Regions from separate parts of the Homo sapiens genome. Here regions 1, 3 and 4 are each linked to region 2. Evidence: promoter capture Hi-C in 16 types of primary human blood cells and fetal thymus (Javierre and others, 2016). All regions are on one chromosome and are shown on one strand. The core of a region is centred on a gene start or on the middle of the fragment in contact, and the rest is flanking DNA. Distances in the headings are between cores, read along the strand shown. Region 1 overlaps GRK5 (G protein-coupled receptor kinase 5). Region 2 holds the start of RGS10 (regulator of G protein signaling 10). Region 3 overlaps GRK5 (G protein-coupled receptor kinase 5). Region 4 overlaps GRK5 (G protein-coupled receptor kinase 5).

The links. Contacts are between HindIII fragments. The CHiCAGO score rates a contact against its expected background, and 5 or more counts as called.
Region 1: a fragment that was not itself captured here is called in contact with the fragment with the promoter of RGS10 in region 2 in 1 of 17 cell types (activated CD4 T cells); the score reaches 5.4 in activated CD4 T cells.
Region 3: a fragment that was not itself captured here is called in contact with the fragment with the promoter of RGS10 in region 2 in 1 of 17 cell types (non-activated CD4 T cells); the score reaches 7.1 in non-activated CD4 T cells.
Region 4: a contact is called between a fragment that was not itself captured here and the fragment with the promoter of RGS10 in region 2, in 4 of 17 cell types (non-activated CD4 T cells, naive CD4 T cells, total CD8 T cells and 1 more). The highest score is 9.6, in non-activated CD4 T cells.

Annotation. Positions count from the first base shown.
Region 1 is chr10:119,356,351-119,362,766 of GRCh38, reverse strand. All of the region lies in intron 2 of GRK5 (G protein-coupled receptor kinase 5), which reads right to left. Among named protein-coding and RNA genes, the nearest start is that of MIR4681, 18 kb to the left of the region's middle. The HindIII fragment of the contact is 1,444 bases long and covers 4,098-5,541 here.
Region 2 is chr10:119,540,670-119,547,482 of GRCh38, reverse strand. RGS10 (regulator of G protein signaling 10) reads left to right here and starts at 4,764. Exons shown (of 5, transcript NM_001005339.2): 1 at 4,764-4,893. The coding sequence starts at 4,845. RefSeq lists enhancers at 3,001-3,509, 3,772-3,851 and silencers at 4,062-4,221, 4,272-4,341, 4,352-5,091, 5,142-5,311. The HindIII fragment of the contact is 10,649 bases long and covers 1,883-6,813 here.
Region 3 is chr10:119,393,540-119,400,141 of GRCh38, reverse strand. It overlaps GRK5 (G protein-coupled receptor kinase 5), which reads right to left. Exons shown (of 16, transcript NM_005308.3): 4 at 3,370-3,447. Among named protein-coding and RNA genes, the nearest start is that of MIR4681, 19 kb to the right of the region's middle. The HindIII fragment of the contact is 9,117 bases long and covers 1-6,602 here.
Region 4 is chr10:119,303,925-119,310,777 of GRCh38, reverse strand. The region is part of intron 1 of GRK5 (G protein-coupled receptor kinase 5); the gene reads right to left. Among named protein-coding and RNA genes, the nearest start is that of GRK5-AS1, 32 kb to the left of the region's middle. RefSeq lists enhancers at 4,122-4,221, 4,632-4,711. The HindIII fragment of the contact is 531 bases long and covers 4,413-4,943 here.

The DNA.
Region 1 (6,416 bases), core at 3,570-6,069, 180 kb after region 2:
TCTGACCCATGGGGCTATAATAAGGCTCCAAGGGTCCCATGCTTCTTGGGCAGCCCCAGCACTCAGCAAAGAGAGGAGTTTCCCAGAGGAATTAAGGTCCCCAAATCTCAAAAGCACGTGTTCGTATCTCAAGGTGGTGACCTGAAATGCAGAATGTTCTTCTTCCCTGTGAGACACTATTTAGTCTTCCTTCCCTGCGATATCCTGGATAAACCACATTGAAAGGACATTTTATGAAGAGTTATAGTTTAGATGCAGGAAGGCTCTGAAGTCAACAGAATGGTCTCTGCTGTCTATTACATAAAACAAACACCCTGGTTCCAGGAACTCGAGGCAACACATTAGGAATCACATTTGTTTTCCCAAGATGGAAGAGTTGCGCAAGACTGCCCTTGTCCTAGCCACATCAGGCCATTCAGACTCAAGTGTCCTGGGGTTCCCCAAAGGCACAGGCAAAGGGTGATCCTAAACTGGCCATGCCAGCACCTGGGATGACACTGACTTACTTACAAGGGACAGGAAGTTTGGTGGTGAGCATGAGCTTAATGCTCCAGGCACACCTCCAGCCAATCTTTGACCCCAGGCTATGGCTTTATCTAAATGATTAAACACCAGATTGTTACAGGGTTACTACCGGCTTCCTAAGAACTGACTTTATTCTTTAAAATATTATTCCTTCTTGTAGTAGCATCACCTCCAATAATCACTGAGTATGGAGGTGGGACAGCTTGCAGCTGGTGAGCACACTTCCTAAGGTCAAGGCTGCCTTTCAATTCTTTTTTTTTTTTTTTTTTTTTTTTTTTTTTGAGATAGAGTCTCGCTCTGTCACCCAGGCTGGAGTGCAGTGGTGCGACCTCGGCTCACTGCAACCTCCACCTCCCAGGTTCAGGCAATTCTCCTGCCTCAGCCTCCCGAGCAGCTGTAATTACAGGTGCACGCCACTACGCCTGGCTAATTTTTGTATTTTTAGTAAAGACAGGGTTTCGCCATGTTGGCCAGGCTGGTCTCGAACTCCTGACCTCAAGTGATCTGCCCGCCTCAGCCTCCCAAAGTCCTGGGATTACAGGCATGAACCACCGCACCCAGCCTTTCAATTCTGAACCCCCTCTGCGCCTCCCCCACTGCCGGGCACCCAGCATAGGCCCCTAGCCAGGATTCCTCTCACGTCTCCTCAGTGGCGTGCAGCACAGCTGTCCTTTGAAATCCGCTTGGCTGATTGCTTAATTAACTTCTTCCCTCACCTTCAACATAGAATTGGAGCACAAGTCCTGGTCTGTCTTATCCATGGTTGTGTGCCCCAGTGCAGAGAACAAGGCCTACTACGCGGCAGGTTCTCGGAAGTGAATGGATGAATGAATGAATGGTGGTCAGGGCTTGCTGAGTAAGAGAATGGTTGAATCATGATGGCCTCGAGGCCTCCCCATCTAGGCAGTCAGAAAGCAGCGAAGACCACCAGACATCCAAGTGGGGTGGGGCTTCTGCTCATGTTCCCGCACCAGGCGCCCAGACACTCCCAAGTGTTTAGCACCTGCCATGAGCCGCACCTCTGATGCGCCATTCTCTGCCTTCATTCCACTGTAGAGTGGACAGCACTGCCCGGTCCTGCTGGACAGAAAACCAGGGCACAGCCAGTTTAAGGTCTGTGCATTGCCCAAGGTCACAGTGCATCAGCGGAGGAGCTGGGATCTGCGTCCAGGTCTTTTTGGCTCCAAAGCCCACAGTACTCCCAGGGAGCCAGAGCCCACCTAGCCAGGAGACCTTCCCAGAGGCACCTGCTGTCCCAAAGAGACTCATCCTTGGGAATCAGAGGGAGGGAAAGGCAGCGACTAACACTTCCCTCAAGAGGAAACCACCGTTTCCCACCAGAGAAGCAGCGGCCACAGGCTCAGAACGCTCAGGGCCTCGGGCAGGAAGGGAGCTGTGTTCCCAGGGTTCCCAGCATCCCCACAGGGCCTGGGAACAGAGCATGACCCAGAGCAAAGGGCCCCGGGCCGGGTGTGGAAGAGGAGGAGGGAGGAGGGAGGAAGAGGACGGACAGACCATCTTCTCCTAACTTAGCCTCAAACACTTGACCATGGAGCTGCGAGAGGGGCTCCTCCCACTCACACAGTCTCCTCCCACTCACAAGTCTCTTCCCACTCACACAGGCTCCTGCCTCTCACACAGGCTCCTCCCACTCATACAGACTTTTCCCACTCACACAGGCTCCTTCCACTCACACAGGCTCTTCCCACTCACACAGGCTCCTCCCACTCACAAGGCTCCTCCCTCTCGCACAGGCTCCTCCCACTCACACAGACTCCTCCCACTCACACAGGCTCCTCCCACTCACACAGACTCTTCCCACTCACAAGGGCTGTGGCCTGAGCTCTGAGAAGCCACCCACTAAGCGCCTCCAGAATCCCACCCAGCCCCGTGTGCCATTCCAAGGCACAACTAAAGAGAAGCCAAAGGCACACTACACACCCAAGAAATGGACACAAGCTCTGGCTCTGCTTTGGGGCAGGGCTGGGCACTGTGGTCTACAGAGAGGAAACATGAGAAACAGGAAGTTCTACCCAAAGAGCAGAGTCCTTCAGCCTCCTTCAGCCTCAGCCTCCCTCAACTTCCTTCACCCCCTCAGACTCTTCAGCCTCCCTCCCTGCCTCCCTCAGATTCCCTCGGCCTCCTCAGCCTCCCCCTATCTCCTCAACCTCCCTCCACCTCCCTCAGTCTCCCTCCACCTCCCTCTACCTCCCTCAGCTTCCCTCCACCTCCTCAGCCTCCTCAGCCTCCCTCCGCCTCCTCAGCCTCCCCAGCCTCCTCAAGCCCCCTCAGCCTCCTCAATCTCCTCAACCTCCCTTCAGCCTGCTAGCCAGGTACCCACTACGACCTCACTCAGGACCTGAATTTGCCCCGGACTCTGCATGGGACTTGCTGCATGAACCCACACCTCCCCCCCGGGAACATCACTGTCACTCCAGAAACACAGGGATGGCAGAAACTTGAATGTTCTAAGTGTGGCAATGCACATTCCCCCGAACACCTGCATCCAGGGTGTGAACCAAAGAGGGGACAGATACCGGATGAGGAAGGCAAGCGAATTTATACAAAGGCCACTGTGTGAGATGCAGTCCCAACTTAGTTCATCTTAACAAAAATTACCCTCCCACAGCAGCCAGGGCCACAGCATCTGGGGCAGCTGCCACATGCAGTGGTCCCCTCTGCAGGTCTTTGCTCTGAGGAAGGCTTCGTGGGTGCTCAGCTCGATTTCTGGCCTTTGTTGCCTGGCCCTGCCCACCTGGGATCCCATTCCCTTCCACACGAATGACCTGGAAACACAACCTGCTTTGCTGCATCAACCCACAGCTGCCTTGCTGGGCCACGCAGGACCCGGAGGCTCCCCTCTTGCCATAACCATGGAGAGAAAGTGGCTCCTGGAAAACAGCTACAGCTCATCTGAGTTACTGGTGTGGATTACATGTGGGGTTCCCTGAAATAGGCCCCCGTAAGGGCATGTACTGCCCCCAAGCCCTCTCGTGTGTACACACATCTCCTCCAGGAAGCCTTCCTGGATTGCCCCAGCCCCACCCCTGGCCTCTGGCACAGTCTCTCCAAATGGCTCCTCTGATGCACAGCACCAGCAACCCCCCTGGTGTGACCTAGGGGACTCCAAACAGTGGAGGGGGCTCAGGGTGTGTTATGAACTGAACTGTGTTGTCCCCAAATTCATATGTTGAAGCCCTAACCCCCAATGTGACTATATTTGGGGGTGGGGCTTTGGGGAGGTAATTAAGGTTAAATGAATTCTTCAGGGTGGGGCCCTAACTGATAGGGCTGGTGTCCTTAGGAGGAGAGGAAGAGACACCAGAGAGCTCAGAGGAAAGGCCGGGCAAGGACATAACAGGAAGACAGTGGATCTACAAACCAGCAAGGGCAGAAGCCAGCCCTGAGGCACCTGGATCTTGAACTGTGGCCCCCAGAACTGTGAGGAAAGAAATACCTGTTGTCTAAGCCGCCCACTCTGTGGTATTTTGTCATAGCAGCCTGAGCAGACTAATACAAAGTGGATGATCCAAAGAGCAAGGCTTGAGGCTCAGTGCTGCCATTTACAAGCTTGGTGACCTCTGAGGAATCCCTGGGCCTTAGTTTCCTGGTCTCTAAAATGGGGCTGCTGACTCTGCCCTGCCTGCCTCCCTGAGAGGCCTGTGGAAGAGGAGCAGATGAGGGCACAGACAGGACCATGATTTGGGAGATGGAAATGCACCATGCACGCCTCAATTCCTGGGGGCAAGGGGACCAGGACCAGGAGAAGGCGGCCAGGCTGCCGGGTGGAGGGCCTGGGTGGAGGCATGAGATGGATACAGGTCCAATCCTGGCACCACCACTCAGCATCTGGGCAATGCCAGTCAAATCACATGGTCAGAGCAGCTACTATTTGCAGAGCATTTGCTACACCCCGGGCATAATCACTCTGTGCCCTTGGCTGAGTAATGGGAGGGACTCCTGTTCCTCATGGGTGACTGTCAGACAACATCCGAGCTAGGACCAGCCATGCATGCTGCGTGGACACCCCAAAACACTGCCACCCTTGCCCTCACCTACCTGTGGCTCAGGGACTCTCACTCGTGCTCCAGGAACTCAGGCAAGCTGGCCCCTTTCTCCCTCCCCACTGCACAATGGGGAAACCAGCCGGGGCCTTAGAAACAAGGGGCCAAGCCATTTCGGGCCATCCGTGATTCCATCCAAGGCTCACATACTTTCCATACTGAGGCCTCTCCCCTTTGGGTGTGATTGATGCAGCCACCCCGAGAGGACCAGGATCTGCTCAGCAGACGCTGCCCACCCCTGGCTTGGGAGGCTGCCGCTGCACCTTGTCCAAAACTCAGTCCCTGTGGGGTCAAGGCATCCGAGTCAGGAAGCGTGCCCCACCACCCACCCCCACCCTGCCAATGGCATGGCTAATGTTGGAGAAGACCAGAGACATAAAGGGGGCACAAAGGGAGGGAGACTTAACTACGTGGCCAAGAATGCAGGCAGCAGAACAAGAAGTGGGGAGTGAACCTGGGGACAGCCCTCTTGCATGGAAAGAAGCTCATGCAAAGCTGTCAATGGTGGGGCCAGCAGGCCTGAGTGTGAGCCGCTATTGCTATTGTTGAATGGACTTCAGTCAGAATTTCCCTGGCACCTGGATGCAGGCCTCTGGAAGGCAACCAAGCCAACAACAATCCAGACTAATGCTTCCCCCACTCCACTCCCCAGGAGCAGGCAGCAGGAGGCAACCAGGAAGGCACGCACCAGGATGGAACGATATCCACCAGGGTTACCCGCGTCTCATTATCAGCCACAGCCTTTCCAAACATCTCCCTGACCCCCGCTCCCATGAGGGGCTTTACCACAGGTGCCTCAGCTTCCACTTCCCTGGGAACAGAACTGCAGACACAACACAGGCCCTTTGGAAGGCACCTTCTCTAGTGCTGAGGGAATTTGCCTAGAGCAAGGGAAGGCCACAGCCCACCCTACCCCCCATTTGTGACTTTATCTTTGGAGCATAAACAAGCTTCATCTGCACTTACAGTTATTCCTTACCCAGCCCTGCTCTGTCATTAAAATGAGAAAAAACACCATTTCCAGATCACTTTCATTACTTTGATAGGGCAAGGCATCTGGCATCACTTCACTTCGCTTGGGCTCCAGGGTCCAGTTGGCCCCCAGCCACCTTCACACCTCACTTTGTTAAGAATTTTTTCTTCCCTAGCATGGGCCTCACACACATGCTGTTCTTTGGTGGGCAAAGACATTCCCTGCCTTCTTTGACAATGCCATAGAGGTAGCATGAGATAGCTCAGCACTGGTCAGTTGCTAAAGAGAGGGCTGGCACAGCAAATTTTAGTAAAGCAAAGCCTTTATCGTTTTATCAGTTTTGAGAAGGGTTCCTATATGAGAATACAAAGCCTCCTGTAGATTGCATTGAAAACTTGTGAGAAAAGGGATCGGTAGTGGCTTGGGCTGAGCCTGCTAGAGACTGAAGCATACAGAAGGGCTGCAGTTCTGTTTTGTTGTTGTTGTTGTTCATCTTCTCTATTCTTGGCATCTCCTTGTGGATGGTTCTGGGGCACACATGGGGTTAAAGGGCAGAAGAGGAACTGGAAGAGCCCAAAGCCTGTGTAAAGTTGGATTTAGGTAATGCTGGATATAGAAATCCAGGCACAGTAAAGGGGCTGATCTTATTGGGCATCAAGAAGATAGACAAACAAGACTCTAGCTAGCCCAAACTCAGAAATCAGACAGGATGCCAGAAATCAAGAAAGCATGAGCCACGAACATGGTAAAAACATAAAATTCTGGGACTAGAGACTGATTCTATAAAGTCTTTGAATTATTTCTTATAAGTCCAAGGTGATTGTGATTCTACTCTATGCTCCAGATTCCCTGAT
Region 2 (6,813 bases), core at 3,515-6,014:
TGAACCTAAAATTGCTCTAAAAATAAAATTTACTTTTGCCAGGTGCAGTGGCTTACGTAATCCCAGCCCTCTGGGAGGCCGAGGTGGGCAGATCACGAGATCAGGAGATGGAGACCAGCCTGGCCAACATGGTGAAATCCCATCTCTATTTATTTATTTGAGACTCCATCTCAAATAAATAAATAAATAAATAAACAAAATTAAAAATAAAAAAATTAATGAATAAATAAATACATACGTACGTACATACATAAGTAGCAGGGTATGGTGGTGCACTCCTGTAGCCCTAGCTACTCAGGAGACTGAGGTAGGGGGACTGCCTGAGCTCAGGAGTTCAAGGCTGCAGTGAGCTATGATCGCAGCACCACACTCCAGCCTGGGCGACAGAACAAGTCCCTGTCTCTAAAAAACAAAACACAAAACTGCAACAGAAATGAAGCCTTATGTATTTTTGTGGCATTAAACCCAGTAGAGATTTCAACTAGTCTCTAATTAGTGATTTTTCTCCCTGATTTAAAAGCACATACACTGCAGAAGTTTGCAAAACAGGAAAATGTAATGAAGAAAAAAGAACCCATTATCCTATTATCTAGAGATATAGTCTAGTAATATTTAGGTGTAATTAACTGCTAGCTTTCTAGGTATAAACATACCGTATTCTCCTCTTCCTCCACACTGAAAATTTTCTCTATATTTGTATCCTGATTTTTCAACGAGAGCTTCGTCTAAGATTCTTTCATCTTTCTCTTTGCACTAGTTTTTTCCACCAAGTTCCAAAGATTCTTCACAGTTTTTTATAACTGTTAAATATTCTATCAGGAGAATATGTTATACCTTAGTCATTCTCTTAGCGGGCATTTTTAGCTACTGTAAATAACCCTGATAAAAGGAAGTGTTATGTTTAATTGTACACGTAAATGTTCGCATCATTTATTGTTTTTCTTTTGGCACAAATTACCAATTATAGAATTATTCACTAGTCCAAGAGGTATAAACATTTTGAAGACTCTTACATGTGTTGTCAAATACATATATTAACACATCTGCTTCTCTTCCTTCTAGAGAGGTTGTAACAATTTACTTTCCCTCCTTCACAGTGTAGTAACAATGTGAACATCAGTGTTACTAACCCTGCCAATTTCCTATAATTGAAAAGAAATCCACTTTTGACTGGCTGTACCATAAAGTTTATCATTTATTAAAACATCATTGTAGGGGGAGTAAGAGTAATTAAAATTCCAGTAATTTTTTGTGTGCCTACATGTGCTGGGCACGATGCCAGATGCTTTTTTGTTTATTGCTATTGAATACCACTTGCTCGGAGTGTAGGTGGACCTCTCCTTGCCCTGTCCCTTGAGGCTACGATGTGTTTGAGGACACATCTGGTGTGTCCACACAGCTGGTTGCTGTTTGGTCAGATTAGTACCCAGGTCTCTTGACTTTAAGTTGGCCACTTATTCATTTTACTATACCTTGTCTGCCTCAACTGGCCTAGAATAGTCTTGTTACATAAATTCTGGTGATGAGAGGCTCTAAAATGTATTCACAGCTTACCAATATTTTAGTTTCTGGGTAGAATGAAAATATTGAACTCCAAAGCCAGTAATCCCTCTGAAATCTTGTGTTACCAGAAGACATCCGGGGCTCTTGCTTCTTGCCTGATGTAAACATCCTTGAACCAAAAGTGAGACCAGCAGGGGAAGAAAGGGGCTAAACCGCTCATCCTCTTCTTCCCCACACTGGCTACCGCAGTTTGTTTGTGAAGGCTTGACTTAGGAGGCTAAGGAGGGAGGATCACTTGAGAGCCCAGAAGTCAGAAATCAGCCTGGACAACATAGTGAAACCTCTGTCTCAAAAAAAAAAAAAAAAAAAAAAAAAAGCTTCAGAAAGTGCATGCTGGAATTACAGGAAAAATGCCATTGGGATGGTGAGCACCTTCAATCCAATGCAAACCACGGTTGGAACTTAATCGTGTGTGTGTGTGTGTGTGTGTGTGTGAGTGTGTGTGTGTATGTGTGTGTGCATTTGGCGAGTTTTAGGAGTTAGGAGGCTTTATACTTTTATACGTGGTCTTTTGCACAATACACTTTGAAAACTGGCTTTTGAACCTTCAGACACTTAAAACAGGTATTTATAGCAATTTCAATGTCCCAGGCAAAAATTTTAAACTGTGCACTTAAACGTTAACCATGCATTTTTTTTTTTTTTTTTTTTGAGATGGAGTCTTGCTCAGTCACCCAGGCTGGAGTGCAATGGCTCGATCTCAGTTCACTGCAAACTCTGCCTCCCGGGTTCAAGCGATTCTCCTGCCTCAGCCTCCTGAGTAGCTGGGATTACAGATGCCTGCCACCGCGCCTGGCTAATTTTGTATTTTTAGTAGAGATGAGGTTTCACCATGTTCGTCAGGCTGGTCTCGAACTCCCGACCTCAGGTGATCCGCCCGCCTTGGCCTCCCAAAGTGCTGGGATTACAGGTGTGAACCACCGCACCCGGCCTTTTTTTCCTTTTTTTGGAGACAGAGTCTTGCTCTGTGGCCCAGGCTGGAGTGCAGTGGTGAGATCTCAGCTCACTGCAACCTCCTCCTTCAGATCTTGGCTCACTGCAACCTCCTCCTCCCAGGCTCAAGTGATTCTTCTGTGTCAGCCTCCTGAGTAGCTGGGATTACAGGCACCTGCCACCAGGCCTGGCTAATTTTTGTATTTTTAGTACAGATGGGGCTTCACCATGTTAGCCAGGCTGGTCTTGAACTCCTGACCTCAGGTAATCCGCCTGCCTCTGCCTCCCAAAGTGCTGGGATTACAGACGTGAGCCACAGCGCCTGGCCCTAACTATGCATCTTAATTTTTGTACTTACTCTCTGATGTGCTAACAGGACAGTAAAAGTGATTTAAGGCTGTTATATTTTCCCTTTATTTAAGAGATGCCTGGGGTTCTTAGCTCAGGAGGGATTCATAGCATGTCTTAAGCCACACCAGTGTTTTTCAGGACACGCTAGGGTGGACTTGGCAACTAGCAAAACACTGAGCTGCTGTGCCTAACTTTTACCCCTGTGTGCCAGTGTGCTTATTTCCTGTCTTAGGATTACTTGTAATTTGGTCTCGGGGAAGTTTTCTGGGTGAGTGCGTTGCACCAATTCCCTTATTGTTTTAAGAACGCAGTGACCTCACTTGGATCCAGGACTCTGCCAGCATTTAAAATCCCGCTCTTACGAAAGGTGAAACTCTTGCCTATAGTTAAGTATCACAGCTTGATCCCATTACAATGAGATGGAAGTTTGTCTGGGCCCGGAGTAGGCCAACAACAGCAGTTTTAAAAGCAGAACTCCCCGCGCTGGGTCTAACCCTGTTCTTGGTCACCGCGTTCGCTTCAGGAGCCTGGAAATCCTCTTTTGGCAGCAGAAGGGGGAGAGTGCTTGGAAATGCTCGGAGGAAAACGACTTTTGGAGGGGGAATAGCGGGGAGGGAAACAACAAGCAACCACCGGCCACACTTGGGGTGCAACTGGGGCTGTGGGGTGGGTAGAGGGAGAGGGAAAGTGAGCAGAACTGGAAGCTCAGAATAGAAGATACAAAAGAAAGTGCCAAGTAGTGAAAAAAACTGCAAAAGGACGGGGGGATGGGGGGAGGGCGACTGGGGAACGGTTTGGAAAAATAGCAATTAGTACAGCTAAAAATAAAGACCAATTTAGAGACAAAGCCAGATACACAAGGAGAAAAATAAAACTCGCCAGAAAGACAATTTCTTGCAAACCAAATGTTCAAGAAAATGGGGGCTAATGACATCCCCTCTGGGGCTGCTCCATAGAAGAAATGAAATAATAGGAGACCGTAGAGCGCGCAGCGCCCAGCAGGTGACGCCGTGGGGGCTTGAGTGGTCCCGGTCGTGGAGCCTGAAGGCCCTGCCAGAGGCAGTGCCCACGTGTCCCCAAAGTTAGAGAAGTGTCCCGAGAGCGCGGTGTGCGGGACAGAGCACCGCCCGGCGCAGGAACCGGGGGGTTCCTGCAGAATCCTCTCAGATCTCCCCGAGTCCTGGCGCCCGCGCGGCACGGCCGGGGAGAGGGCGCCCACCCGCGGCGGCTCGGCTAGCTCAGCGCACGGGCCCTGGGGACGCCCCACCCGCATTCGCGGGGCGGGAAGGCGCAGCGCCCACGAAGTCGAGGAGCAGCCAGGCCCCAGCAGGCGGGGATCCTGGTGACGAGGAGGCAAAGGCCACAGGCTGGGCCGCGCCCGGACTCTGCAGAACCGCGAGGCCTAGGCTTCCCAGCCTGTGACCCGGGAGGGGACCCCGCCCGCCACCTGCGAAGGCTCGCTGAGAGCCCCGAAGCGCGGTGCGCCCGCGGCGCCGTGCCAGTTTCTCCGGGGCTACAGGGAGAAGGCGGGAGACCGCGATGGGCCCGGGAGCTTGAAGCTGGGCGGGGCGGGCCGGGGCGGCATCTCAGGCGAGGGCCAGGGACCCCGGGACGCGCTAACCGCCTCCGCGGGGCTACTAAGTTCCCGGCGGCGCGGGCTCCCTCTGGGCCAGTGCACCTTATCCCAGGCGCGGGGCACACTCTGGGCGATCGGGGGTCACCCGGGGCTGCCCTGCCCTGCCCCGCCCGGGCACCCCGGAGCGGAACCGCGAGTCCTCACCAGCGGGGGCGGGCAGGGCGCACTGAGCGCGCCACGCGGCGCCTGGCTAGGAGGAGGGCGGCGGGCGGGGACCTAGAGCTCCGGGGCGGTGCTGAGCCCGCTCCTCCTCCTTGCCCTCCTCCTCCTCCTCCTCGCCCTCCTCCTCCTCCTCGCCTTCCTCCGGCTCAGCCGCCGCGCCGCCGGGCTGCTCCTTCTTCCTCCTCGGGCGCCCGCGGCGATGTTCAACCGCGCCGTGAGCCGGCTGAGCAGGAAGCGGCCGCCGTCAGGTAAGCGGCTTCGGGGGCCCGCGGGCTCGGGGTCGGGGCGCCGTTTCGCCCGCCCGGCCTCCTGCCCTCCCTCTTGTGCTCGGGCGCGGCTCGGTGGTACCTCCCAGACTGGAGCCCCGGCCGACCGCACCACCTCTCCCCGCTGGGTACCGCACCTTCGCGGTCCCAGCCGCGACGGGAGCGCAGAGCTCCTCCGGGAGCCCCGGGGAGGAAGTTTGGCTGAAAGAGGAACAGCCGCAGTTTTCTTTTTAGTGATGGTCTGGGAGAAAAAGGAGCGCCCCAAATCTCCAAACTTTGGAGGTGACATGGGGCTCCAGATTCCGAAAGCGGAACGGCGCGCGGGCTTCTCCCTCCGTGACGCTCTCCGCCTCCGCTGCGGGCGTGGGTGGAAGGATGCCGAGCGCCCGGGGGAGCACGGCTGGACCCGGGCATCCGACTGGGCCCCTGGGCCTGGGGCGTCGGGGGCCTTCGCTTCTGCCGCGAGGAGCCAAAAGGTGGGATCGCGAGGGTGGCGGAACCCCAGGATGGAGAAGGGCACTTCTGCGGTCCGAGCCAGCGAAGTTCTGACGTTACGAAGGATTCGCCTTGGCCGTCACTTTGGGCCAGCCTGAGCCACGATCTCGGGCAACTTGATAGGCCAAAGACCCCACGGTGAAGGTGGAGCCGTGCCCTTGATTCCGGTCCTTCCACCCTTTTGCTCATCACAATAGCTACGACCTGTGCAGGCCTTTGGGTGCGCCAAGGGCTTTGTCCACCGCGTTGGGTGAACTCTCCCTTCACCCCTAGGACAACCCGGTGAGTGAGGAGGGAGCGGAAGCCAGGCGCTGTTAGGTAACTTGCCCCAGTCACACTCCGCAGGTGATGGGGAGGCTTTCAAACCCAGGTTCCCCTGACTCTGAAGTTCGGGGGCTTTGCCGGGCTTCCCACGCCAAGATTCACTTCTGCTTGGCGCTCAGAGTCCCAACGCGTTGGTGCATTTCCTTTCTGCTCCTGGTATTTTATGAGGGACATTGTGGTTTAGAGACTGGGACCAGACTGGCTGGATCCGAATCTCACCTTCGCCATATTCACCAGCCGTGGGACCTTTCTGCAGAATGAGGTTCTGCACAGTGGGAATAACAGTAGCTACTCGCCTTTTAAAGTACTTAATTGGAACCTGTCTTCCATCCATCAGGTTTTGCAAATTATTGTATTTAATATGTAGGATTTCATAGGGTTGTTGTAATGATCTTACATTGTTGCCCGGCAAGTACTAAGTGCTCCGTTAGCGTTAGTGGTCATGTAAACCTTTTTGTGTTGCATGTGAGTCAAAGAATTCCCTTGTGGGTGTTAATGTTAACCAGTCTCTATGGTTGGCACAGGCCTGTGGAGCGCTGCTCAGAGCCTGGACTCGAATTAAACTCTTGGTTCTAACCTTGACTCTGTCATTCAGCAACACTGGGCAAATTACTTGATCTCTCTGTGCCTCCGTTTCAGTGATGTGCTGGAGCTGGCTCAAACTGGCTTGCAAGAGCCAGTTGCCAAATATTCAAAAAGTTTGGAAACTGGTTGTAAACCATAGGTAGCTTGAAAGTAGTTATGATGGGATATTTACATCATGAAAATCAACAAAGCTAAAAATGAAGGCTTCATTTTGACTCAGGAGAGCTGATGTTCCAGCACCTTTCTCCACCTGCAAAGTGGGTTTCATAGGGTTATGGGATTAAATACTCAAAACCATATGAAGCCCCTAGTACAATGTGTGGCACATAATAAAAGTGTAATAATTAGTAGCTTTTCTCCCTTTTGCCTGTTATAAATAGAGCTGCTATGAATAGCCCTGTACGCGTTACTTATTACTTTAGATTGCTTTTGGGTTGAAGACTGACAGATAGAACCATTGTATCCTGGGAGATACATGGATTTGGGGTGATTTTGCGT
Region 3 (6,602 bases), core at 1,380-3,879, 150 kb after region 2:
TCACAACAATGGAACAGTGTGCTCAGAGACCACCCAGGTGAGGCCAACGGACTCTGACAAGAGGCAGAAGAGGCTCTGTGCAGCTGGGGATGTTGGAGATGACTGCAGACAGTGGTGCCTGACACAAGTGTCCTCAATACATGCAGGGATACAGAAGCGAGAAAGACAGAGTAGGGGACAGCGCCTTCATAAAGGGCCTTCTGGGGCACAGCCTGAACAAAGGCCACAAGGTATGGACATCCAGGTGAGCCTAGGAAATGGTGTGGCCACAGTCCAGTGTGAAGCCACAGGAGAGGTCCCAGGAAAGGATGCTGGAGCAGAAGGAGGTGTGGGCGTGAGGCTCTTGGATGTGTTCTGTAGCCCAAAGTGTGCTCAGCAGAATGGAAAATTGAAAAAAAATTATGGTCAATAACTTTGAGAAATGCTTTGGTAACAGTTAAAGAGGTTTCTTTCTTGCAGGACTTCTCAGAGCCTTGAATATGCTCACATGCTGAGTGAATCTACCGGGGGAGACATGGTATTACAGTGCTGCCCACGTGTAATTGACCACTGAGGGTTCTTTTTCACAGAGCTTCTCCACTGGCCACTCTCCTATGGTCTACCTTTTGGGAAGCACTGCTCAGAGCTGAGACACACAAGCTACATACTGAGGAGGGGTCCCAAGGCAAGGACAATCTGGGCTTGGGGACAGTGGCTTTGCAGTTGGTCAAAGTCTTCTGAGCCAGTGCTGGGGCCTCAGTCACTCGCTCAGCTCCTCAGCCAGCACCTTGCTTCGCTGCATCTGGGGCACTGGGGCACGTGAGAGGTAAATGAGGCTCCAGAGCAAGCTGTTATGGGAAGAACTGGGAAAGCAGTGCAAAGTTTATTGTAGGGAAACAGCTGACCCAAGGCATGGATCAACCACCTCCCCTGGAGGCCTCCCTGGCCGTAACATATGGTGTGGCTTAAATTTTTTAAATTGAGGAGAACTTAAGGGAAAAAATGCTGGCAGGCTCTGAGGCACTTGTAAAACCGTCTGAGCTGATGGGGGTGTCTGGGCCCCATCCCTCCAGGAGATGGAGGCAAGGCTGAGCAGAGCTAGGGAGGTCTGGAGAGCTCAGGTCAGGGGCTGCCAGCAGGGGCTTCTGGACAAGGTTGGCCACGGGGCAACCCGGTGGCAGCCCTCAGTGGCTGCCCCAGTGCCTGCCTGTACCCTGTTCTTGGCTAAGCCACAAGAGCCTATCCAGACAGCAAGGTCAGGCAAAGGGAGCACTCCGCCCTCACTGCAGATCAGAGCCAGGCCACAGACAGTGGCAGGACAGTGAAGCCGGGTGAGGAGACTACACCCAGGGGAAACACTCAGGGCTCTAGAATCACCCAGACTTGGGTTCAAATTCTAGCTCCGCCACTCACTAGTTGTGTGACTTGGGATGTGACAGCTCCCCTGAGCCTCTCCTTCCTTATCGGTAAGATGGAACAAATATAATCTGCATCCCACAGTGACAGCAAGGACTATAGACAGTGGTGCCTGACACAAGGAGTCCTCAATACATTCTAGTTGCCATTGTTTGGGGGGGACACATGTGACTGGGTAGCCCTATGGGGGCACAGATGAAGCGCTGGACTGGGCCAAGCTGAGCCACCGTGGGAAGATGCCTCTGCAGAGGGTAGCTGAAGACCCCTTCAGCAGAGTGGCCTCTCACGCTATTCAGCTCTGTGGCCTCAGTGGCCTGTCTGTAAATAGGGCAATCTCGTGGATACGCGAATCATCAGAGACATCTCGGAGGCATGTGGCACACCATAGGAGCCCAGCCAGGGAGCTGTCATCATTATGCCCTCTAGGGTGCATGCACCCCTTTAAGCTCAGGGCATGTGTTTATGCCCAGAGTGTCCACACTATCTTGAGTGGTGGCCAGGAGATCAAAAATGTATCTAGCCAGAGCCCCACCAATATGACATCGGCTGCGACTGGGTGAACAGGGACCCTGCTGAGAACGTCTCCTCGTCTGTGTCCACCTGAGAACCTCACAGACAGCAACAGGCCCATATCTGGAGCATAGCAAGGCCCCCAAGGTGGGGGCAGCTGTGCCTACCCAGGGCCACACCTTGTCCAGAGCAAACTAGCCCTATTCTATGCCTAGAAGTGTTTTATAAACATAAATTCTGTCATTTCTGAAAAGTGCAAAAGGGCTGGGGGTGTTTGCAGTTCACAGAAAGAGAAGTGCATGGATTATGATGGATGCAGCAGAGAAACAGCAAGGGGAGGCAACAAGGTGATGGCGACTGTGTGCGCATTAGGAATGCCGTCTAGCAGGCTGTCCAGAGTGGGGCGTGACAAAGGGCAACACTTCTGGGCGTGAGGCTGGTCTCACCCTGCAAGGGCAATGGCCACTACCAACTGCTGATGCTGGAGAAGAACGAGGGCTACATTTGGTGCAAGAGGTGCAGGAGGTTGAGGGGACTGATGGCCAAGACCTTCCACAGGCTGTGGTGACCTCAGTCCACTGGCAGCCTGGGATGGGCACCAGGAGGTATACTCTTCCGGGGAGCTGGTTGGCCCACAGGGTCCTGAGCAGGGTGAAGCCACCACTGGCCCCGGGGGATGGGACACACGCAAAGCTATTCCCACACAGGTCCCATCTCAGGCTCTCAACACCTCCGGGAGGTGAGTCTGACAGGAAGGCCACTTTTAAGAAAGGGAAACAGAGGCCCAGGGAGGGAATGTGGCTTGACCAAGTGGGCAGAACCACTGACACTAGAACACTAAATGGGTTGAGAACACACTTCTGTGAAGGTGAGTCAAGAGGAAGCAGATCTTGGAGAACCGAGGCTGCTGGACCCTGAGGACAATGGTACCCCGATGCTTCAACTATCCAGTGGGTGGCCCCGAGGTGGGGTCGGGGTGGCCCCTGACCCTTCAGAATACTCCAGAATATGTTTCAGAATTCTCTTCATTCTTTGATGTCGTTGGGCACCCCCTTTCCCTCCCAGTCAACCCCCAACACTTCCCCTCCACGCTGACCTCTCAGAACTGCCCTGCTAAGCCCTTCCTTCTGGGCACTTCTCCTGAACTTGGCCAGGCCTCCATCTGCCCTACCACAAATGGTTGGGTGTGGGCACACAGCAGCATGGTGACCCTTGAAGGGGCTGGGCCCCAAGAAGCAGGCATCCCGCCCCTACTCCAGTCCTGGCCTAGACCATCCCCATCTTGGCCCTGCCAGGCTTGGGCACTCTCTGGGGGAGGATGGGAACTGTGATCTCAGGAGGTCAACAACAGCCACCAGCCCAGCACTTAACAGCTCCCCATGTGGCCTGGCACAGACTTAGGGGCTCCTATTTTTGCATAAGGCCTCCTGTGCCACCTGCTGTGGGGTTTGGAAGACTCCTTACCTTTGGGGTGAGGTACTTGGTCATAATTTCCTTCCCTTTCTCTCCCAGTTTTTCATCTGGAGTAACTTCATATTCTGCCTAAAACAGAAGGAGAAAAAAGAACAATAACAGGTTTGCTCATGAGCTTCTTATAGTTACAGAACCTCACAGCCCCTGGAGGAAATCCCCTAGAGGCCACCTGACCAACCCCCTTCTCCTGCAGGTCAGGAAACCGGGGGGGAAGACCTGGCCACGGAGCCCCGATGTTTAGTCCAAACTACTTTGCCCTCTCTCACAGATGCTGGGTCTCAGGATGGCGGTGCTCCATGCAGACTGCACATCAGAATCAGCAGGGAGCCCTGAGCAAACACTGATGCTAGGCCCCACCCTAGACCCATGAAACCAGGCTTTCCAGTGGGCCATGAGGGCTGGCACCTGGGCAGCCGGGGTTGAAGACCACTGACTTAGATGAATCAAAGGAAACTACCAGAAAAATAACAGCCCACCAGACTGGAAGGCTGCCGAGAAGCTGCCTTAGGTCACTCAGACCTTGTAAGCTGTGTGATCGTAGACAATTTGCTTAACCCTTCTATAAAACGCAGATGGTACCAGCACCTAGGTATACACTGATTATACAGACGGAAGTGATCAAGCTCTTGGCCTGGGGCCTGGCCCATCATAAATAATAATAAACAGTTGCTATAGTTACCGCCATTGTGATTATTACACCTTGCAAGGATAAACAATAATGTGGATGCCTGGTCTTTTCCAGCTTTTCAGTTTACAAAGTGAACATACACAGGTTTTTTAAGATGTTCTTATCTGAACCTCGAAAGAGCCAGGGCAGTGACGCAGGAGAACAGGGGCTGCCATCCCAACCCCTCGTCTGTAGGTGGAGATCCCGAGGGCCGGCGGTGGGAAGGGACTTGCATAGGGTCATGCAGCGGGAGGTGGCAGGGCTGGGACTCGAACCTCCAAGCGCAGGGCTTCTCCTCAACCACACCACAGAATTTAGGACTCTGATAACTAGCCAAGCCAGGGGGCCCAAGCTCTAAAGATGGGAGGTCTCCAAAAAACAGACTTTTTAATTTCCCTGAATCCCAGAGGGGCTCCTTCGCTCACATCTGACGCACTCGCCACATGGATAAAGGGCCTCGAGTCAATAAAAAGCCTGAGTAAGCGGCCCTTTCTCATTTAGACAAAAGAGCTAATTGCAAATTGTTTATAACCATTTCAAAATCCACCACCCAAGGATTTGTCAGCCTCTGTCCAAAAGTACAGCTATTTCAAAAGAGGAAGGAAATGACACCAGCATAGACGGACCCGAACTCCTCCCCAGGCGTCCCACCATGCAGTCAGATGCCCAGCCGGCCCTCAGGGAAACTTCACACCTCAGTGTCTAGGGTCCGATTCCTCCCAGGCCAGCCAAAGGGAGCACGCAGGCGGCACTCGCAGTGACCACAGAGGCAGCCAGGCTCGTTTCCAACCACAGTGAGCGAGTGTCCTTGTCTTGCCCTCTCTCTTCTAATGGAGAGCCAAGATCCAATGATTTTCTCCCATGAAGAAACATGAACACTACAATCATTTAGATCACAGGGAGATAGGGCAGTGGTTCTGTAAGGAATCCCACCCCTCATTTTATAGGGCTGGACACAGAGGCTCAGAGAAGTCAGGGACTTGCCCAAGGTCCAAGGTCACAGCTGCTGGACTGGCGCGCTGGCCTCTGGATTCCCACTGCGCCGCGTGGGCAGAGCCTCTCCCCAGAGGTCAACTCCTCTTCCACATCAAGATGAGCCTTGAGGGACTGGGCACTTCTTGATGATTTGACTCGAGAGATGAATTCCTGAGATGCTTTAAGGTGGCTCTTTCTTCTTGACTTTTTCCTGTTATTTTCTTCCTCTGTGCCCCCTGTCGCTCTCCTAAACCTGAGTGCACATGTGTGCACACACACGTGCCCACAGACACAGATACACACACCCACACACACACCCACACACCCAAACATACACGTGCCCACACACACACAGATACACACCCACACACAGACACACACACACCCAAACATACACGTGCCCCCACACACACAGATACACACCCACACACACCCACACACACGTGCCCACAGACACAGATACACACACCCACACACACACCCACACACACACCCACACACCCAAACATACACGTGCCCACACACAGACACACACCCACACACAGACACACACACACCCAAACATACACGTGCCCCCACACACAGATACACACCCACACACACCCACACACACGTGCCCACAGACACGCAGATACACACACCCACACACATCCACACACGTGCCCACTAAGCAGATACACACACCCATACACGTACCCACACACCCCCACACACATGCCCACACACAGACACAGATACACACACCGACACCCACACACACCCACACACCCACATGCCCACACACAGACACACAGATACACACACCCACGTGCCCACACAGACACACAGATACACACCCACACACACGCCCACACACACACAGATACATCCACACACAGACACCCACACACCCACACCCACACGTACCCACACACAGATACACACCCCCATACACAGACACCCACACACACACTCAAACCCACACACAGACACACATACCCACAGATACCCACACACACACACACACCCCCCACACAGACGCAGACACACACAGATACCCACACACACCCACAGACACACACACACAACCACACACCCACAGATACCCATCCACACAAACACACCCGCACCCCCCCAGACCCAGACACACACACACATACCCACACACACCTACACACAGACACCCACACACAAACACCACACACCCACAGATACCCATCCACACAAACACACCCGCACCCCTACACACACACATACAGACACCCACACACAGACACACACCCCATATGGAGTGCTGATTCCAGGCTCACCCTACATGGCAGGGTATTATTATTATATCTACATGGTAGGTATTATTAGTCCCGATTTGCAGATGAAGAAACTAAGGGTCTAAGAGGTTCCAATACAGCACAGCTAGCAAGCGACGGGGCAGCAGTGGCGTCTCCAAAGGGGCTGAGCACTCTAGAGCCAGCTGCCTGCTGTTTTCCAGAATGAGAAGCACCCAGGGTCCTGCTGCCCCTGGACAGCCCGCCGTTGGTCCGGCACCGTGGGAATGTAGCTAGACTGCTCTGCAGGACGCAGGCCCTGGGCAAATGGCCGGCCA
Region 4 (6,853 bases), core at 3,429-5,928, 240 kb after region 2:
CTCGCACTGTGTGAGGCACGAGGTGGGCACTCATCCCATGTTAAGCCCTCTTGCTCTGTATCCCAACTCCCCAACCCCGCCCTGCCTGGGGCTTCCCTCCTTTTCCCTCTATCCCTCTACATCTCTTAGGAGAAAGCAGACCCCTAGTCCTCTTGCAACACTATTGATCTTCTTAAAAATGTCTTTTCCCAAGAAGTAGCAGAACTGGAAAAAAAAAGTTCTTTCCAAGCAAAATAATTTTTTAATGTATTTTTGTGCTCACGATGTTTTTGCCCACACTGGTTTTCACAGTTGAGAAAAGTCTGGCCACAAAAATGGACTTTTCACTACAAGAGTAATCCCCTTCTCTCAGCAAGGCCCAAATTTGGTCACTTTTGCCTCATAATGTTTTCTCTGGGTTGAAGGGGAAGAGAAAGCCAGGGGAAGGGAGATAAGTGGACACCTGAGAAATGCTCCTGGCAGTCGTAGGTCAGCCACTGCTGCAACTGTGGCAATTCTGTTGGAGAAATAAACAGGACTACTTGCTCAGGAAAAATACAATTTTTCATAGGATACTCATAAAAATATTTGCATTTTCCTGTGAGTACTAATTACTTCCGCTCTCCCCAGAATTTTTGCATCCCCTATTTCAAAGAAGCTAAACAAATGCTGTAGAGATCCTGGCCAATCAAAACCTGCTCAGCACTCAGGTACATTAATTACCATGTGGACATGACCGTGTACACACATGGTCTGGGAAGCCTGCGCCACGGAGACACTAGGACGAACCAGGCTGTGGCCTCCATGCTCCACCTCCACAGTCTCTGGGCCTCATGACCCTACAGTAAAGTAGATTTGTTTTGCAGAGGAGGAAACAAGCCCAGAGAGGACAGGGGTCTGGGCACACAGCTGCTGAGAGGCTGAGCTGGGATTTGAGCCTAAGAATGCCTAGTTCTTAACTCCCAGTCCACAAGGATGATGCTGGCTCAAGGGACAGGCAAGAGCTGGGTCCTAAGAACGTTCCCCCAAAGTCTGAAGCCACAGAAGCAAAAACCAGCACAGCACAGAGGCACCTGTAGAGAGGATTCCAACACAGAGATGAGGGTTCACATCTGGTCTCTGTCCATAGCTCTGTGACCCTGGGCAAGCTGCTTACCCTCTCTGAGCTTCAGATTGTTCAAGCGTAAAATGGGGAAACACCACCCTCTTAAGAAGGCTGCTAGGGCCAAAGTGAGATTGTGGTTAGCACTCAGTAAATGTGAGCTGTCGCCATTACTCTGCCCTGACTCTTGATCTCACATAGGGTCACAGGACCTGGGGGTTGAAAGGACCCTTCCTTGTCCTTGATTCAACCTCCCTCAACACTCCCATTGGACCCTGCATTCCCAGCATGCTTCCCTCCCACCAAGGCCTTACTGAGCTCGGCTCTGCCTCCCCCAGAGTTCTTCCATCCACTGTGCAGACTCATATCGAGGACCTACTTGGTGCTTGGCACGTGGCCCCTGCCCTACAAGAGCTCACAGGCTCGTGGGCGGCACTGACCCATGCCAGGTGACAATACTAGAGGAAGAGGGGCTGAGGGGGCACAGGGGAGGCACAATCAACCCTGCCTGTGGAATCAGGGAAGGCTTCCTGAAGGAGGTGACCCTTGGGCTGAACCCTCTCTTCTTAGAGACCACACGGTCCCTCACGCACCAGCCCTGCAGGGATGTGGCAAGAACTCCGAAGGTGGCCCCAGTTTCCATCTAGGCTCAAGAGCCCGGGCCCTGGGCACCAGCCCTCCCAGCCTCAGCACCAGCCTCCTCACTGGAGGGAGCTCCCAGACAGGCCCTGGGAAGATCTGCCTCCCTCAGGGAAGAGTCCTTTCCCTTCAGCTCCGTCTGGGAAGTGGGGAGAAAAGGGCCGGCAGGCCATCCTGCCAGCATTCCCCCAAATCCATACAGGGCTCCCCTGCCTCAGAACTGGACCTGCCCAGGATCTCAGGCTAACACTAAGATCCTCCTCCTGGCCCCCTGGAACCAGGAAGCAGCTGGCCTGGGGGTCAGGAGCGAGGGCAGGCCTGAGCATGGCAGCCACAGTGCCTGTGCAGCCATTGTCTCTAATCCTCAGAACGAGGCGTAAGAAAGCTCCCCCACCGCGTGGCACAGGAGAAGCCATTGAAGCTACGAAGACGCGGGCTGACCGGCCCAACGTCACCGGGAAGAAAAACACACGCCTCCTAACTTTGTCATCCCGACTGTGTTCACCTTTCCCTTCAAGCACTTGGGGCCAAGGGAAGCTCCATGGAGTGGGCTGCTCCTGGGGAGGAGTCAGGGGACCCAGAGAGGATTCTGAGGGGGCACACGCCTGGCCCATACGTCACAGATGACCCTACAGATGACTGTACCGAAGCAGCAGCGAGAGCCCTTGCCACACGCAGAGTTCTTCCCAGTCACTTCTACCATGAGCACACAATTTCGGCAGGGCTGCAGCATGACACCCATTTTGTAGATCAGGAAGCTGAGGCCGGGGCAGGGTGAGGCGTGCCTGGGGTGCGCAATCAGTGATGGGGGCCTGACCCTGATCCAGATCTGAACAGGAGCTGCTGTGGGCACAGCTCTAGTGCCCAAAGATAAACCCGGGCACTTATGTTCCTGCAAGGACCTGGGGAGCAGCCTTAGACCCAGCTCTGACCCTGCAGGTTCGGCCTACAAAGGCGCACTGGGCATACAGTGCAGACCCGCCATGGGTGCCCACTCCCAGGGGACCAAGGACGATGCCTGGAGAGGTGGGTGCTCAGATGGAGCCTCATAGAGGCAGGGTATAGGCTGGGGCCCCAGGTTCCCCATGACCCTTTCCCTCTGTCCTCTCCCCACCTCATTCCTGTGACACAACAGAGCAAGCTGGGGCAAGGCAGTGGGGCTTTAAAAGGCTTCCTAGAAAATGCTTCTTGAATTGTGAAATGGCCAAGGAGGGCTCTGTTGGCAAGATGAGGTTGTTACCCCTCAGAATTCAAAATCCAGTGTGTATGCAGAAAGGAGGGCTCGCCACCAGGAGACCAGAGTAGAGCATGGCTGCATGAGTTTCCTCTTGCTTCAGTAACAAGTTATTAACGGCACAAATGGAGTGCTATAGACACAAATGTATTATCCTACAGTTCTAGAAGTCAGAAGTCTGGAATCAGATTCACCGGGCTAAATCCAGGTGTCGGCAGGGCAGTGTGCCTTCTGGAGACTCCAGGGGAGAATCTACAGGCCACCTCTATTCCTTGGCTCAATTCATGGCCCTTCCTCCACCTTCAAAACCAGCAGTCGCTGGTCAGGTCTTTCTCAAGCTGCATCACTCTGAACTCCTTTTCACAGGCACAGTCCACTCTCCCTCTAATCAGGCCCACCTGATATCCCTGGATAACCTCTCCATCTCAACAGCCTTAACTTAATCACATCTGAAAAGGCCCTTTTATCAGGTAGGTAACATATTCACAAGTTGCAGGGATTCGGATACGACATCTTTAGGGGACCATGATTCAGCCTTAATCATGCAGTGATTAAGACTGCATGCTCCAGGGCCAGACTGCCTGGGTTTAAACCCAGGTATGTAATTTACTAGCTGTGTGACTCCAGGAAATTTACTCAACCTCTCTGTGCTTCAACTGGCTCCTCTGTAACCACATAGATATAGGCATCAATGAGCTGATGCACGTAAAGCATTTAGCATAGTTAAGAAAGTTCAGTGAATAAGGGCTGCAATTATCCCCTACTCTCCACCTAACTCAGAATGAATGACATCAGAGCTGAGAGGAACCTTGCTGATCACCCACGCCTGCTCCTCACTGACGGCTGGAGACACAGAGGCCCAGGGAGAAAAAGTGAGCCATCAAGGTCACACAGCATTTTTTTAGGCAACCCCCAGTACCCTATAACCATACCTAGTACAGACGAGCCCAAAGAAGCATCCCCCATGTCTCCCCAGTGCCCTGCACCCAGTAGACGCTAGAGGACACTGCACCCAGTGAGTCACCTGGAGGGAGAAGAGGGGAAGTGCTCCCCAGCAGAATGTCTGCAGGAAACACCTGCAGGTGCAGCGGCCCCGGCCAGATCCTCACACCCCACCCACCAGGCTCAGGGGCTCAGGCAGACGTGACACCTCTTTCCCCAGGAGAAGTCAGCAGAACAAATCTTGACTAGGGACACCAAAATCCATATTCGGGGCCAAGAGAAGGTGCTCTGCCCCGCAAGTGTCAGCCAGGACCCCGGCTTCCTTCCCTCGCTGTGTGATCTCAGTGTGGGTTTGGACACATCCCCACTCTGGGCTTCCATTTCACATCAGAAAACAGGACCTGGAATGGCTCAGTGGCTCTCAATCTGCAATCATGATCCAGGAGCCCCTGACCAAGTTTCAGAAAATCCTAGAAGAAGCGCACATGCGCCCCAAGCTGAAGCACACAGGAAGCTTGCTCATCCAGGCACTGAAGTTTATCGGTGTGTGCAGTTCAGGCTGAACAGACTCACACAGAGGTGTCTGCAATCAACAAAACGGGGGAAACAGTGACTCACCTCACACAGATGGCCTGTTAGCGGGCAAATTTCTCCACAAAAGGCGACAAGAATCACCACGGGTCCTTGGCAGAGCCTCAACTAGACTCTGCTGTTTCCAACCAGAGAGGACTGACTCATCCAAAAGGCTCCCCCCTCCCCCAAATCCAGCCCAGGCGGGCACTGCCCCAGTGGTTCAACTCCCTCACCATCACACAGTCCTCCAGCTGACACCCAGGACTCCCAGGGAGGCCTTCCAAGGGCTCAACACGGAGCCTTTCCATGGTCTCAGGGGTGGCTGAGAGCAGAGATACCGGAAGTACAGTGGTCAGGCCGTCACCTGCTTCCTCACTGGGAGTTATTTTCTGCCTCAGGGCCTTTGCATATGTCATTTCCTCTGCTAGATACACATTTCCAGAATCACTTTTTTGCAATGAAACATTTCAAGCTTACAGAATGGGAACAAAATTTCTTTAAACCTGCATACCCACAGGTTTTGTCAAAATAATTCCTCCATCCACTCTCCTGTTGAGAGACACGTAGGTTAGGTCTTCCAGGTTTTTACCTCTCAAATGACGTTGCTCTGGGCACTTACACGTGTCTCCCGGGGAGTGGCACTTTATTGCTGCCCCTACTTCACCCGGCCAAGTCCTCAGGTCTTAGGGTCTTGTCCTTCCCTGATCATCCCCAATCAATCAATCCAAGTCATACCCACACAGCTCTCTCCCACCACTCCTCAGTCAGTGTCTGGCTTTGAAAAAGCAGCTATCAAAATTTGTCAGCAAATTTTCACTTATGCCTTTATGGGGCTTCCACCCAAGAGGACAGAGACCACGTCCATTTTGCTCATCAGTGCCTAGGACATGTGCCTGGCACACAGCAGACCTCTGACATGTCTGTGAACGAGTGAATGCTTGAATAAGTGAGTGAGCAGAGGTGTCACCCCAGAAGCAGGTCATGTTGAGCCCATCTTCCCCCAGGTCTCTGAGACACACCTGACATGTCCTCTGCCGGCCCCTTGTTCTGTCAGCGAAGAGAGGAAAGGCAAGGGAGGGGACCACGGGTTCCCACAGCCTTGGAGGACCACGGGACTCTGGAGCTCAGAGCCCAGGGAGGTGGAAGGTCAGAGGCTCTAGGTCAAGTCCTCGCTGCCAACCACAAGGTGAAGCTCAGGAGACCTCATCTGGGCTTTCCTGCAGCTCCCCACAGCCAGACACCCAAGATTTTTCAGAAACAGGTGTCAGCAAAAGAAAAACTGCAGGGAGAGATGGAAAGAAGAGAAGGGAGGGGGTGGGAGAGGAGAGAGGGAAGGGAGAGATGAAAGAAAAACAGGTAGGGAAGAAGGAAGGGAAGAAAAGGAGGAAGAAAAGAGCAAGGGAGGGAGGGACAGAAGGAGGGAGTTGCCCAAACACCTCTCATTAAGCGAACAACTGCCTTTCTGCAAATGCCCTGCTGGTCCGCATCTGCGTGCACAGGGCAAGCATCTCTGGGTGGGGACTGCATGGGGTCGGTTCTCATGCCCTACCCCTAGACAGAGACAGGCACAGAGCCAGCCCTTGGTGGATGGCTGGTGAGCAGGCAGCGTGGTGCACTGGCGACAGTGTTGGGTGCTGGTTATAGACTCCCTAAATCGGGACTCAGGGGCCTGTGGGTGAGCTCAGCTGCTCGCTAGGTGGATGACCTTAGGCCAAAAGCTCTTTGAGCCTCAGTTTCTGCATCCACAAAATGGGAAGAAGAATGTCAATGTTGCCGCCTAGGGTTGTGAGGAATGACGGGGAAATGCACAGAAGCCCATGTGCAGTGAGCACTCAACAGACAGCAGCAAATTAGCCAGGCGCGATGGCACACGCCTGTAATCCCAGCTACTCAGGAGGCTGAGGCAGGGAGAATTGCTTGAACCCTAGGAGGCGGAGGTTGCAGTGAGCTGAGATCATGCCACTGCACTCCAGCCTGGGCAACAGAGCAAGACCCTGTCAAAAAAAAAAAAAAAAAAAAAAAAAGCAGCTCACACAGTTAGCATACTGCTGTTGCCCTGCTTTCCCCTCAAGGTTCCAGGTGGAGGTTTCCTTCCTCCACAGGCCACATCATCCCACTGCTCTGGTCCTTCAGCCAGGGCTGCTCAAAGCTGCCTCTTGGTCATGTCTCTAGATTTGTGCTGAGTCATTAAACACAGTCAAGATAAAGCCCAGGTTCTGAGTTTTCCAACATCCCCAGCACCAGGTAACACCACACCCTCCGCCTTCTGGATCCAGAAAGGCAGGTGAGTCAGCCCTCCCCAGATGATCCTGAAGACGCAGGGCCAGCACCACCCTGGCGCTTTAGGGTAGGCAAGGACCCTGAGTCTGGCTGTAGGGACACCA